4 separate regions of the Homo sapiens genome follow, and all the other regions are linked to region 3. Evidence: promoter capture Hi-C in human tissues and cell types (Jung and others, 2019). All regions are on one chromosome and are shown on one strand. Each heading gives the region's core, a stretch centred on a gene start or on the middle of the fragment in contact. The rest is flanking DNA. Distances are from core to core; before and after follow the strand shown.

What was found. The method cuts DNA at HindIII sites, captures the fragments that hold promoters and counts their contacts. A contact is called where the count stands out against the background at its distance.
Region 1: a contact is called between a fragment that was not itself captured here and the fragment with the promoter of CBLN4 in region 3, in 2 of the 25 tissues and cell types used here (lymphoblastoid cells and thymus).
Region 2: a fragment that was not itself captured here is called in contact with the fragment with the promoter of CBLN4 in region 3 in 4 of the 25 tissues and cell types used here (H1 embryonic stem cells, lymphoblastoid cells, mesenchymal stem cells and 1 more).
Region 4: a fragment that was not itself captured here is called in contact with the fragment with the promoter of CBLN4 in region 3 in 2 of the 25 tissues and cell types used here (dorsolateral prefrontal cortex and lymphoblastoid cells).

The regions. Positions count from the first base shown.
Region 1 is chr20:55,867,857-55,870,556 of GRCh38, reverse strand. No RefSeq gene overlaps it. Among named protein-coding and RNA genes, the nearest start is that of CBLN4, 140 kb to the left of the region's middle. The HindIII fragment of the contact is 5,189 bases long and covers 1-2,700 here.
Region 2 is chr20:55,831,748-55,834,447 of GRCh38, reverse strand. No RefSeq gene overlaps it. Among named protein-coding and RNA genes, the nearest start is that of CBLN4, 170 kb to the left of the region's middle. The HindIII fragment of the contact is 3,890 bases long and covers 1-2,700 here.
Region 3 is chr20:56,004,165-56,006,864 of GRCh38, reverse strand. CBLN4 (cerebellin 4 precursor) reads left to right here and starts at 1,346. Exons shown (of 3, transcript NM_080617.6): 1 at 1,346-2,700. The coding sequence starts at 2,694. The HindIII fragment of the contact is 15,736 bases long and covers 1-2,700 here.
Region 4 is chr20:55,851,638-55,854,337 of GRCh38, reverse strand. LOC105372678 (a long non-coding RNA gene) reads right to left here and starts at 1,830. Exons shown (of 3, transcript XR_001754724.1): 1 at 1,702-1,830. The HindIII fragment of the contact is 4,383 bases long and covers 1-2,700 here.

The DNA of each region.
Region 1 (2,700 bases), core at 46-2,545, 140 kb after region 3:
GTATGCAGCTTTATTTGTGTTTTTTAAAATTCTGTTCTATTGGTTTTAAAATTCTGTTCTATTGGTATCTGTTCTTGTACCAGTACCATGCTGTTATGGTTACTGTAGCCTTATACTATAGTTTGAAGTCAGGTAATGTAATGCCTCTGAGTTTATTCTTTTTGCTTAGGATTGCTTTGGCCATTTGGGATCTTTTTTGGTTAGATATAAATTTCAGAATAGTTTTTCCTAGTTTTGTGAAAGATGATGTTGCCACTTTGATGTAAATATCAAATTGGTAGATTGTTTGGGACAGTATGGCCATTTTAATGGTATTGATTCTTCCAATTGATGAGCATGGAATGTTTGTCTATTTGTGTCATCTATGATTTCTTTTAGCAATGTTTTCTAGTTCTCCTTGTAGAGATCTTTCACCTGCTTGGTTGGATGTATTTCTAAGTATTTTATTGCATTTGTTATTATTGTAAATGGGATTGCATTCCTGATTTGGCTCTCAGCTTGAACATTATTGATGTACAGAAATGCTACTGATTTTTGGAGATTGATTTTGTATCTTGAAACCTTACTGAAGTTGTTGATCAGCTCCTTGAGCCTTTTAATTGAGTATTTAGGGTTCTCCAGGTATAAAATTTTATTATCAGAGACAAGAGCTACTTTGACTTCTTTTTTTCATTTTGGATGCGCTTTATTTCTTTCTCTGGCTAGGACTTCTAGTACTATGGTGAATAGGTGGTAAGTATGGGCATCCTTGGCATGTTCCAGTTCTCAAGAGGAATGCTTCCGGCTTTTGCCTCCTCCGTATGATGTTGGTTGTGAGTTTGTCATAGATGGCTCCTATTATTTTGAGGTATGTTCTTTTGCTGCCCAGTTTGTTGAAGGTTTATAACAGGAGAGGATGTTGGGTTTCCTTGAAGGTTTTTCCTGCATCTGTTGAGAAGATGATATGGTTTTTGTTTTTATTTCTCTTTATGTGGTGAATCACTTTTATTAATTTGCATCTGTTGAACCAACCTTGCATCCTAGGGATGAAACCTACCTGATTGTGGTGAATTAACTTTTTGATGTGCTGCTGGATTAAGTTTGCTAGTATTTTGTTGAGGATTTTTGAGTCTGTGTTCATCAGGGATATTGGCCTGAGGTTTTATTTTGTTCGTTGTATCTCTGCCAGGTTCTTGGCGTTAGGGTGACGCTACCTTCACAGAATGAGTTATGGAGGAGTCCCTCTTCCTTACTTTTTTGAAATAGTTTCAGTAGGATTGGTACTAGCTTTTCTTTGTAGGTCTGATAAAATTCAGCTATAAATCTGATATGGTTTGGGTCTGTTCCTCTGCCCAAATCTCATGTCAAATTCTAATCTCCAATGTTGGAGATAGGGCCTGGTAGGAGGTGATTGAATCATGGGGGCAGATTTCCCTTTGGTTCTGTTCTTGTGATAGTGAGTGAGTTATTGTGAGATCTGGTTGTTTAAACATGTGTAGCACCTCCTGCCTCACTTCTTCCTCCTCTGGCCATGTGAAGAAGTGCCTGCTTCCCCTTCACCTTCCACCATGATTGTAAGTTTCCTGAGGCCTCCCCAGTCATGCTTCCTTACAGCCTGTGGAATCATGAGCCAGTTAAACCTCTTTTCTTTATAAATTATTCCATCTCAGGTATTTCTTTATAGAAGTGCAAGAACAGACTAAGACAGAATCCATCTGGTCTGGGCTTTTATGGTTGGTAGGTTTTTATTAATGATTCAATTTCAAAACTTGATATTGGCCTGTCTGGGGTTTCAATTTATTCCTGATTTTACCTTGGGAGGTTGTGTGTTTCCAGAAATTCATCCATTTCCTCTAGATTTTCTAGTTTGAGTGTATAGAGGTGTTCATAGTAGTCTCTGAGGATCTTTTGTATTTCTGTGGGATTGGTTGTAATGTCATTTTTGCCATTTCTAATTGTGCTTATTTGGATCTCTCTCTCTCTTTTTTTTTTTGTTAATCTAGCTAGTGATCTATCAATCTTGTTTTTCCTTTCAAAGAAACAACTTTTTCTTTCATCGATTGTGTAGATTTTTGGGTCTCAATTCCGTTCAGTTCCACTCCAATTTTACTTATTTTATTTGTTCTCCTAGCCTTGGATTTTATTTGTTCTTGTTTTTCTAGTTCCTCTAAGTGTAATATTAGGTTGTTAGTTTGAGATCTTTCTAACTTTTTCACATAAGGATGTCGTGCTGTAAACTTTCCTTTTTTCCCCTGGTTTTTCTGCATCCCAGAGACTTTGCTATGGTGTGTCTCTGTTTTCATTTATTTCAAAGATTTTTTTAAAATTTCTGCCTTAATTTTTTTGTTTATCCAAAAGTTAATTAGAAGCAAGTTGTTTAATTTTCATGTAGTTGTGTGGTTTTGAGAGGACTGGGGTACTGATTTTTTTTCTTTTTATCCCACTGTGGTCCAAGAGTGTGGTTGGTATGGTTTTGATTTTTTTGAGTTGATTGAGACTTGCTTTATGGGTGAGCCTGTGGTCAATCTTGGAGTATGTTCTGTGTGCAGATGAGAGAGTGTATTATTCTGTGGTTGATAGGGGGAGTATTCCATAGATGCCTTTTAAGTCCAGTTGGTTAAGTGTTGAATTCAAGTCTAGAATTTCCTTGTTAGTTTTCTGCCTCTGTTTAATGCTGTCAGTGGTGTGTTGAAGTCTCTCAGTATTATTGCATGGCTGTAT
Region 2 (2,700 bases), core at 155-2,654, 170 kb after region 3:
AATGGGTATATCTATTGGTCTCTTATATGTATGTGGTCCTCTGCCAGTGGGAATTAGTAGGATTTCCTTTAGAAAATAGAGAAAAGAAATGTATATATTTGACCTTAGTTTCCTTAGCAAATACTTGGCATTTACTTGTTTGGAAAATAGAATAAGCCATTAGATCATTTGGTGCTATAACAAACACATATGGAGACTCAGCAGGGATTAGAGTACAGTTGTGGTTCACCACCCCCAAAACAGTGATTTTATGTATCCTACACAGGAGATCTTATGATTGTAATGATCTTGTACTTATTGGCAAAATGAGACAAAAATTAATCATCTATTTTTCCTTGTGTCCCTTCTTTGTTTCCCCTTTGTTCATGTCTTGGTCTTGCCTCTTCGTAATTCTGTCATATTTTTTCCTCTATCCTGTTTTTCTTCTCTGTGTTTCTTTTGTTTTCTCATTATATTTATGACACTCACCCTTTTTCTTTCATTATTTTGAGTTGTTCTTACGTTTAACAGCACTTGTTTTTATCTCACCCAAGAAGCTTGCGCCCTTGTTCAGAACTATTCAGCAATAAGTAAAGCTTACCTTTCTTTGTGAATGGTAGAAATTTATTGCAGATTTATTGCAGAAAATTTCCACTTTATTAAGCCGACAGATTTTGCTTGAAGGCATACTACCCTGTGAAATTCTAAATTTGATTTAAAGGTCAGAGGAAAAGCCTGGCACCTACAATCTCTGCCTTTGAATTGTTTTTGTAACACTAAATAGAGTTTACAAGGAGAGGAAATTGCAATTGATCAGCAGAAGACATGCCAATCACAGCTTCTCTCAATAACTCTTTGCCTTTAACCAAGCTAAGAGATGAAGAAAATGATGAGATTAACATGATCTTGTGGAACGTATGAAATTTCAGGTTCAATTAGGTGTACCAATTGGATGAACTACTTTGCGGGAAGAGAGGGAAACACTATTTTTCTGAAAGCTAGAGAGAAACCTTAATTACAGTTGTCAACCACAGGGGTATTTTCATTTGCATACATAAAATAACTTTCTAAAAGGATATATGTGTGTGTGTATATATATGTATATATAAAATAAGCTTTATTTTTGTTCGTTTCTGAATACATAATAGCTTAACTTGCTGCTAGTGATAAACATAGGTAATTTATTTCCAAATGCTTTCTGTTACCACAGCAAAAATGTATTACCTTCTTAATTGAAATTATTTTGTATATAATCAAGTTGTACATTTTAGCAGTGGGGCAGCTTAATGAAAATTTTAAATTTACTGTGTTAATCCCTTAAAATGTGCAAATTTTAGTTATCTGATAATGAATTATTGGTAATGGTATGAAAGAAAATAAAGCAAACATCTAAAACTTCTAAAAGCTGTTAACATCAGAGTTGTCCGAAACCAGGAATAAGACTAAAATATGAATCCAAAGTTGTCTAATATTGTTTTGATGGTTGTGGAATGACCATTTTTGGTGACCATTGTACTTCTTTCTACTAAAGGGTAACTCTTCAGAGGTCACCTTGAGGTAGAAACACATTAAGGTCCTCTAGAGTCCTCTAGAAACAACGTAGACTGCTGGCTATGCAAACAAAACAATAGAGTGTAACAGAATCTATATTTACCTAATTTAAGTCTTCTGCCCGAAATTGGTCCCTGGCAAAAAAAAAAAAAAAAAAAAAAAAAAAAAAAAAAAAAAAGCCAACTGTTATTGACAATGTGGCTGGTAGAGGTAGCACATTGGGGCTTTCGTGGTGAAGGCAACAACCATTCTCCTTCTCCTGTTCTTTCTGCATGATGTCCTCAGCTACCAGTGGTAACTTCCATAGGCTTTAAATACAGTTATTAATATGGCCTGCAGGTTCTTGTTTTTTAAATAACTTTTTTTTTTTATTAACTGTAATAGTAACACATGCTCACTGTTTAAAGTTTGGACCATTCATAATAACCTAAGGAAAAATGGAACTATCTCCACAATCTTAGTACCCAGAAATAATTACTTAATAATTGTGAATATTTTGGCCTGTTTCCTCTAGCTTTTCATTCTGTGCATTATGAACATATTGGTGTGTGTTTGCTACTGGGGTGTGTGTGTGTGTGTGTGTGTGTGTGTGTGTGAGAACTGTTACAAAATAGGAGGCATAGACTATGTAATTTTATGTTTATGTTTGTTTTTTACATTTAACATTTTGAGAATTTTATTAACAGTTTTGAAAAACCTGGCTTATGATAGCTAACTAATATTCCATCATAAGGAGGAAGGATCTTTGTTTATTTGTTTAGGGTATTAAGGTTATCTCTAATTTTTCACTGTCAGAAATTGTCCTGTGGTAAATACCTTTGTACCTAAGTCTCTATATATATCTCTGATTTTTTTTTTCAGGATCTTTTCCCAAAAGTGTAATGCCAGCTTCAAAGGATACATGAATGACCCTGAGGCTCTCAATCCATATTGCTGAAATACAGCAGTGTCCACACTGTGGGTGAGGTTTTGGGACCTCCCTTTTCTTTTTTCATGTGGCTTTGGCCACACAGCCAGAAAGCGGTGCTTCAGGCAGGAGCTGAATCAGTGTCACTGGAGCAGGCTTCCTTTGTGCTTTCCTCTCCTGCCAGGATCCTAGTCACAGCTGAGTTTGCCGACAATATGCATTTAGATTCTTGTTACTTTCTCAGAAACAGAAGGGCAGAAACT
Region 3 (2,700 bases), core at 97-2,596:
GAACTAAATTCAACTCAGCACCCACCCTCAAAAGACTGCATCAAATGAGAAGAAATTGCTGCTGTTAACCAGGCAGACATCCCTAAAATCTGGAAGAGAGTTACAAAGTGCAGAGAGGGATCAGGTGAAGATTGTGCTGGGCTTAGGGTGGGGCATCAAAGCTGGGTAAATGGTGGCCATCTTCAGAAGGCACTAGTTCACCTTGTTTGGTTGTAGCTTAGATAGGTAACTTTCAACATTTTAACAAATAGCATGGTACTAGCACCTGCCAGCCGGAACTGACACCGGCCTGTAGTCTCAGCTACTGGGGAGGCTGAGGTAGTAGAATCGCTTGAGCCCAGTAGTTTTGCATCTAGCCTGGGCAATATAGCGAGACCACCCCCCACCACAAGTAAAATAAAATCATAAAGTCAAAACACCTGATACTGGCCCCACTGGAGCAGAATCTGAAGGCCCCTGTGGCACCAAGTATTAACACTTTAGTTGAGAGATTATAGGGAGGTGAGGGTTAGGGGATTCCTCGTAGTGTCTTCAATTTTAACAGTTGGAGCTGGTGCTTATAGCTCAATGCCCGGCCCTTCTGAAGGAAGGGAAAAAGGCTGGAGACGAGGTTCACCTTGTTTTGTGGAGGGCTCGAATGCCACGCTCATGAGGGCGTCCTTCACTCAGGAAGGAATGGGAGCCGTCCATCCCAAGGACCTCCCTCAATAAACATCCCTTCCATTCATAACTAGCCAATGCCATTTTAGGAGCTCCGAATGCCTGGAGGGGATACTGTTTTGGTTAAAGATACCATACGTGTCTGCCCTCTGGCAGCTGGAAGTGTAGAAGAAATTGGGGAAGGGGCGCCATGACCCCACAGCATCACAGAATTGGAAAGCTGGCGGGATGGGGGTGGGGAGGACCTTAGTTAACGCCGCGCCCCCCTCTCAGAGAGGGTTAGTGACTCGGCCAAGTTCACGCAGCCGGGTCCAGACAGAGACAAACCTCCCTTCCCCGTGGTAGCTGCAGAAGAGGAAGGGAACTCTTGCAAATCAGAGGCCAAGATAGCAGTGGAGTGGCACGGGGGCGGAAAGCGCATCCAAAGGGGAGAAAAATGCTGTATTCCTAGGAGTGGGATTGTCTTTTATTTTTATTTTTATTTTTATTTTTTTATTGTTGTTGGCACGGTTTCGGAGGACTTATTCTTGCTGAGTTAACTCCCTCTCCCACTCTTTTTTTTGGCCATGCCTGGGGAGGATTCGCGGTGTGGGGGGAAGGCGCGCCCCTGCGGCTTCTGAGGCTCATCTTCCCGGAGCGGAAGGAAGGAATCAGGCACCTCCTCCCAGCCGCCCCCACGGGCTCTGGTCCGCCCCAAGGCTTCCCTGAGCTCGCCAGGCCCCAGGGCTGTGTGGGGCGGGCTCCCGGCCAGGCGCGGTCGGGACGCCCGCCGGTCCCCAGGTTCGGGGCAGCGCGCAGCGCGGGTCCGCGGCGGCTTATCCTTTTTCGCGACCCGGCCTGGCAGCGCCGCGCTCCGCTTGGAGGGCACTCGGCGGCAGAGTTCCGCGCTGGGAGGGGTGAGGGGACCAGCCGCCTCCTCTGCGGACTCAGATCGAGCAGGAGAGAGTGGGCGCGGAGCTGGGGCCAGCGCAGGGCCGTGGGCTCCTCTCTGGGCACGCATCCTTTACGCCACGGGCTTTCAGGGGCTGAGGGGCCTCGAACCTTGCCAATCACCAGTGCTGTGCGCCCCGCTTGCTTTGGGGTGCGTTAAACGTCAGGAGAGAGCTGCTCAGATGGGGTCACCAGACGCCTTCTCCCCCTTTTCTCGGAGCCCGCGGGTTGCGCGATAAGCCAACCCAGCCGGACGCTGCGCTCCTATAAATAGAGCGCGTGTGCCCGCTTCGCGCTCTCCGGGCTGCACGAGGGACGAGAAAGTTGTGCGCAGGGACTGGGGGCGGGCGGCCAGGCAGGAGAGGACCCCGCCGGACCAGCCGCCCTGAACGCTGCGCCCGGCGCCCTGGACCTGATCCTGCGAATCCGCGCTTTCGGTGCGAGGGACCTGGCTAGCCGCTGCCTCCCTCCCTACCTCTGGGTGACACCAGGTTTGGGGGATTTTTTTGACCAGGCGAAAGTGGGAGTCGCTGGCGTCCTGGCCATGAACACAGCCTCGCGTTCTTCTCAGCCTGGGAAGGACCTTCTGCCTCTGTAACTCGTCCCTGCCGCAAGCCAGACAGGACTGGCACCCGCGCCGCTGGGCACCCGCCACCCTTGTGGCTTCTCTTTGAGTCCCCTCTTTTTGTTCCTGCTCCGTGGTTTAGCTGGTGGTGCTTGAGTTTGGGGTGAGAATTTATTATTATTATTATTTTTTGCCTTGAGGTGTGAATGTGAGGGTTTGATGACTTTCAGATGTCTAGGAACCAGAGTGGGTGCAGGGGCCCCAGGCAGGGCTGATTCTTGGGCGGAGGAGAGTAGGGTAAAGGGTGCTGCATGAGCTCCTTAAAGGACAAAGGTAACAGAGCCAGCGAGAGAGCTCGAGGGGAGACTTTGACTTCAAGCCACAGAATTGGTGGAAGTGTGCGCGCCGCCGCCGCCGTCGCTCCTGCAGCGCTGTCGACCTAGCCGCTAGCATCTTCCCGAGCACCGGGATCCCGGGGTAGGAGGCGACGCGGGCGAGCACCAGCGCCAGCCGGCTGCGGCTGCCCACACGGCTCACCATGGGCT
Region 4 (2,700 bases), core at 94-2,593, 150 kb after region 3:
CATGTCTTAGCTAAAGCTTTGATGGCTATTTGAATATCAACAGTATTATTGACTGTGATGAGTAAAAATAAAAATAACCTGAAATAAGTTTCCAAATTTAGACTTAGTTACAATCTCTGATCATGTTGTTATTTTTTTCCACTTTGCTTTTCTCACTCTTTCAAACCTTCTCTCTGATCATTTTTCTTTTTCCAGAAATTTGTGAGAGCCATACAAACAAACCAAAAGTAAATCAACAGACATAGGTGTCTAAATGAAACACCTACGACTTTTTTAACCTAAAATTCTCTAGAGTTTTTAGCAATCACTTTAGCTCTTTGCTTATCAGTCAGAATCTGAAATGCTACCCATTGTAGGAAAGCCGGAAGCCATCAACAGGCAGAAGTTATGGAAATATTTAACAAACATAGTCTTGTTGATGTGATTATTGTTGCTTTTTATTTTTACAGTATGGTACAGCCAAATGTAAAATTTCTTTTGTAAGTGTTGATGTTGAACACTTACAAAATGTAAGTTGATGATAAACCAACTGTAGATGCCTGAAATTCAGCTCATTCCCTTAATAATGTCTATTTTTTGAAAACCATGGACTTTATTAAAGGATAAAAAGGATGTGTTGAGAAGACAAAAGGGTACTGTTGGTGTAAGCAATGTGTTCTACATCATTTAGTATGAAGTTTTCATATGAGTGCATATATACACTCACATTCATTTCAACCTGTAACAATTAATTAGAATGCTTATACATTAATGAATATTCTATACCTAGTTCTCTTTAAGTAAGGAGATAATACACATTTGTTCAATTCTAAAAGTATATGTGTACTTGTGGCTTATTATACATACATATATGTTTAATATCTATTTATCTGTCTATCCGTAATCTATTTGTCTGTAGAGACTTGCAAATTACATAGATTGAGGTTAGGGATTGGATTTGTTCCTCGTTATATCAATATATGTAATGTACCAGCCATTATTCTAGAACCTAGTAGGTATTGCATAAATATGTATTGATTGAATAAATGAATGACTATTAATAGTTTTATTACAAACTCTCAACTGTTTTTCACTAAGATGTTAGCAAAACTCTTTCCCATAAAAGGTAAACAAAAATCAGCTTTTAATAGTGTGGAGAAGATGTTTAAAAATTTCATTATAAAACAGCTTTAAAAGGTCATGGCCATGGTGGCTTATGTCTGTAATGCCAGCACTTTGGGAGGCTAAGGCAGGAGGATTGAGGATTGCTTGAGGCCAGGAGTTTGTGACCAGCGTGGGGAACATAGTGAGGCCCCATGTCTACAAAAAATAGAAAAATTAGCTGGAGATAGTGGCTTGCACCTGTAGTCCCAGCTACTTGGGAAGCTAGGGTGGGAGGATTGCTTGAGCCTAGGAGCTCCACACTTCAGTGAGCTGTGATCACGCCAGTGCACTACATCCTAGGTGACAAAGCAAGACCTTGGGTCAAAAAAAAAAAAAGTCCATATACTCTTACTAAAAGCCCTTTTCTCTTCTGTTCCTCCGTCTTTCTTGTGGAGTGTAGCAGAAAGAGATTTTAATAAGCTTGTTACTGGGAAAAGTTTACCTCAAGGATATAGGCCTCCCTTTAAAATCAACCTATTTCAAAATCATGTGTATTTTGGTACTTTCTGAAAACTTATATATCTCCATCCCAGCATCCCTGAAGATTTTGCTTCTTACTTGATTTGTGATTGCTTATGTGGTTATTGGATAAAGAGGTAGTGGTTGTTCCTGAAATTCAAAATCATGATCCATCATCTGTCATCTTCTGGGTAACATGTGGCCAGAGTTCTAAAGTCTTCAGGATATGACCAGCTGAAGATAAAAATAGGAATAATTTTAGAACTCAGGAAAAGGCCCTAAATATGGTAGATATTTTGGTACTTTTAGCCACATAGAGTGCAGATAGGACTAGCCTAAATACTTGTGAGAACTACAATACAATTTCCAGGAAATAAGTAGATGAGAATAATAAATCAGGCCTTTACTTTAGAAAGGTGGAGGTGAACCAGAAAAGGGGCCTGCAGGTACACAAAACTAAAAGATGCTAAAACAGAAATCGTTCACCAAAGAGTATATTCAATCTGCTACAGTTTTAAGTCATGAATAACCATAAAGAATTAAGGGAAATGCCCCTTTAAAAAATAGATTGGCTACAAAACTAGGGGAATAGTTGAAAAAATAATTGCATTGTTAAGATTTACTTTATGAGTACATTTACAGAGTTAGAATAAGTAGGAAGAAGGAATAATCTGTCACTGAAATGTCTGCAAGGAAATTTAAGTAATGATTGAACTTAGGTGGGGATAATGAACTGCAGAGTGGGTACTGAAAAAAATAGAATTTGTTCCATGGAAGGCAAATCAAAAAAATTACCCATAATTCTATGGCAAAAAAGAAGTGTTAAAAATGATGAGCGAAAAAAATAAGAGATGAGGATAGTTCCAGGAAATCTACAAAACAAGAATTGCAGAAAAAGAGAACACAGGCATAGTGAGTCTAAATCTCAAACATTAAAAAAACCCAACCAGCCAAATAATTAAATCTAAAAATCAAAAAGACCAACGATTAGTCCTGCCAAATTAAATAAGACAAGCATATTAGTAAAACATTTACATTTCAAGGATAAAGAAATAATCTTTCAGGACTGTAGATTTTCAGATAAACAGGTTGCCAAAA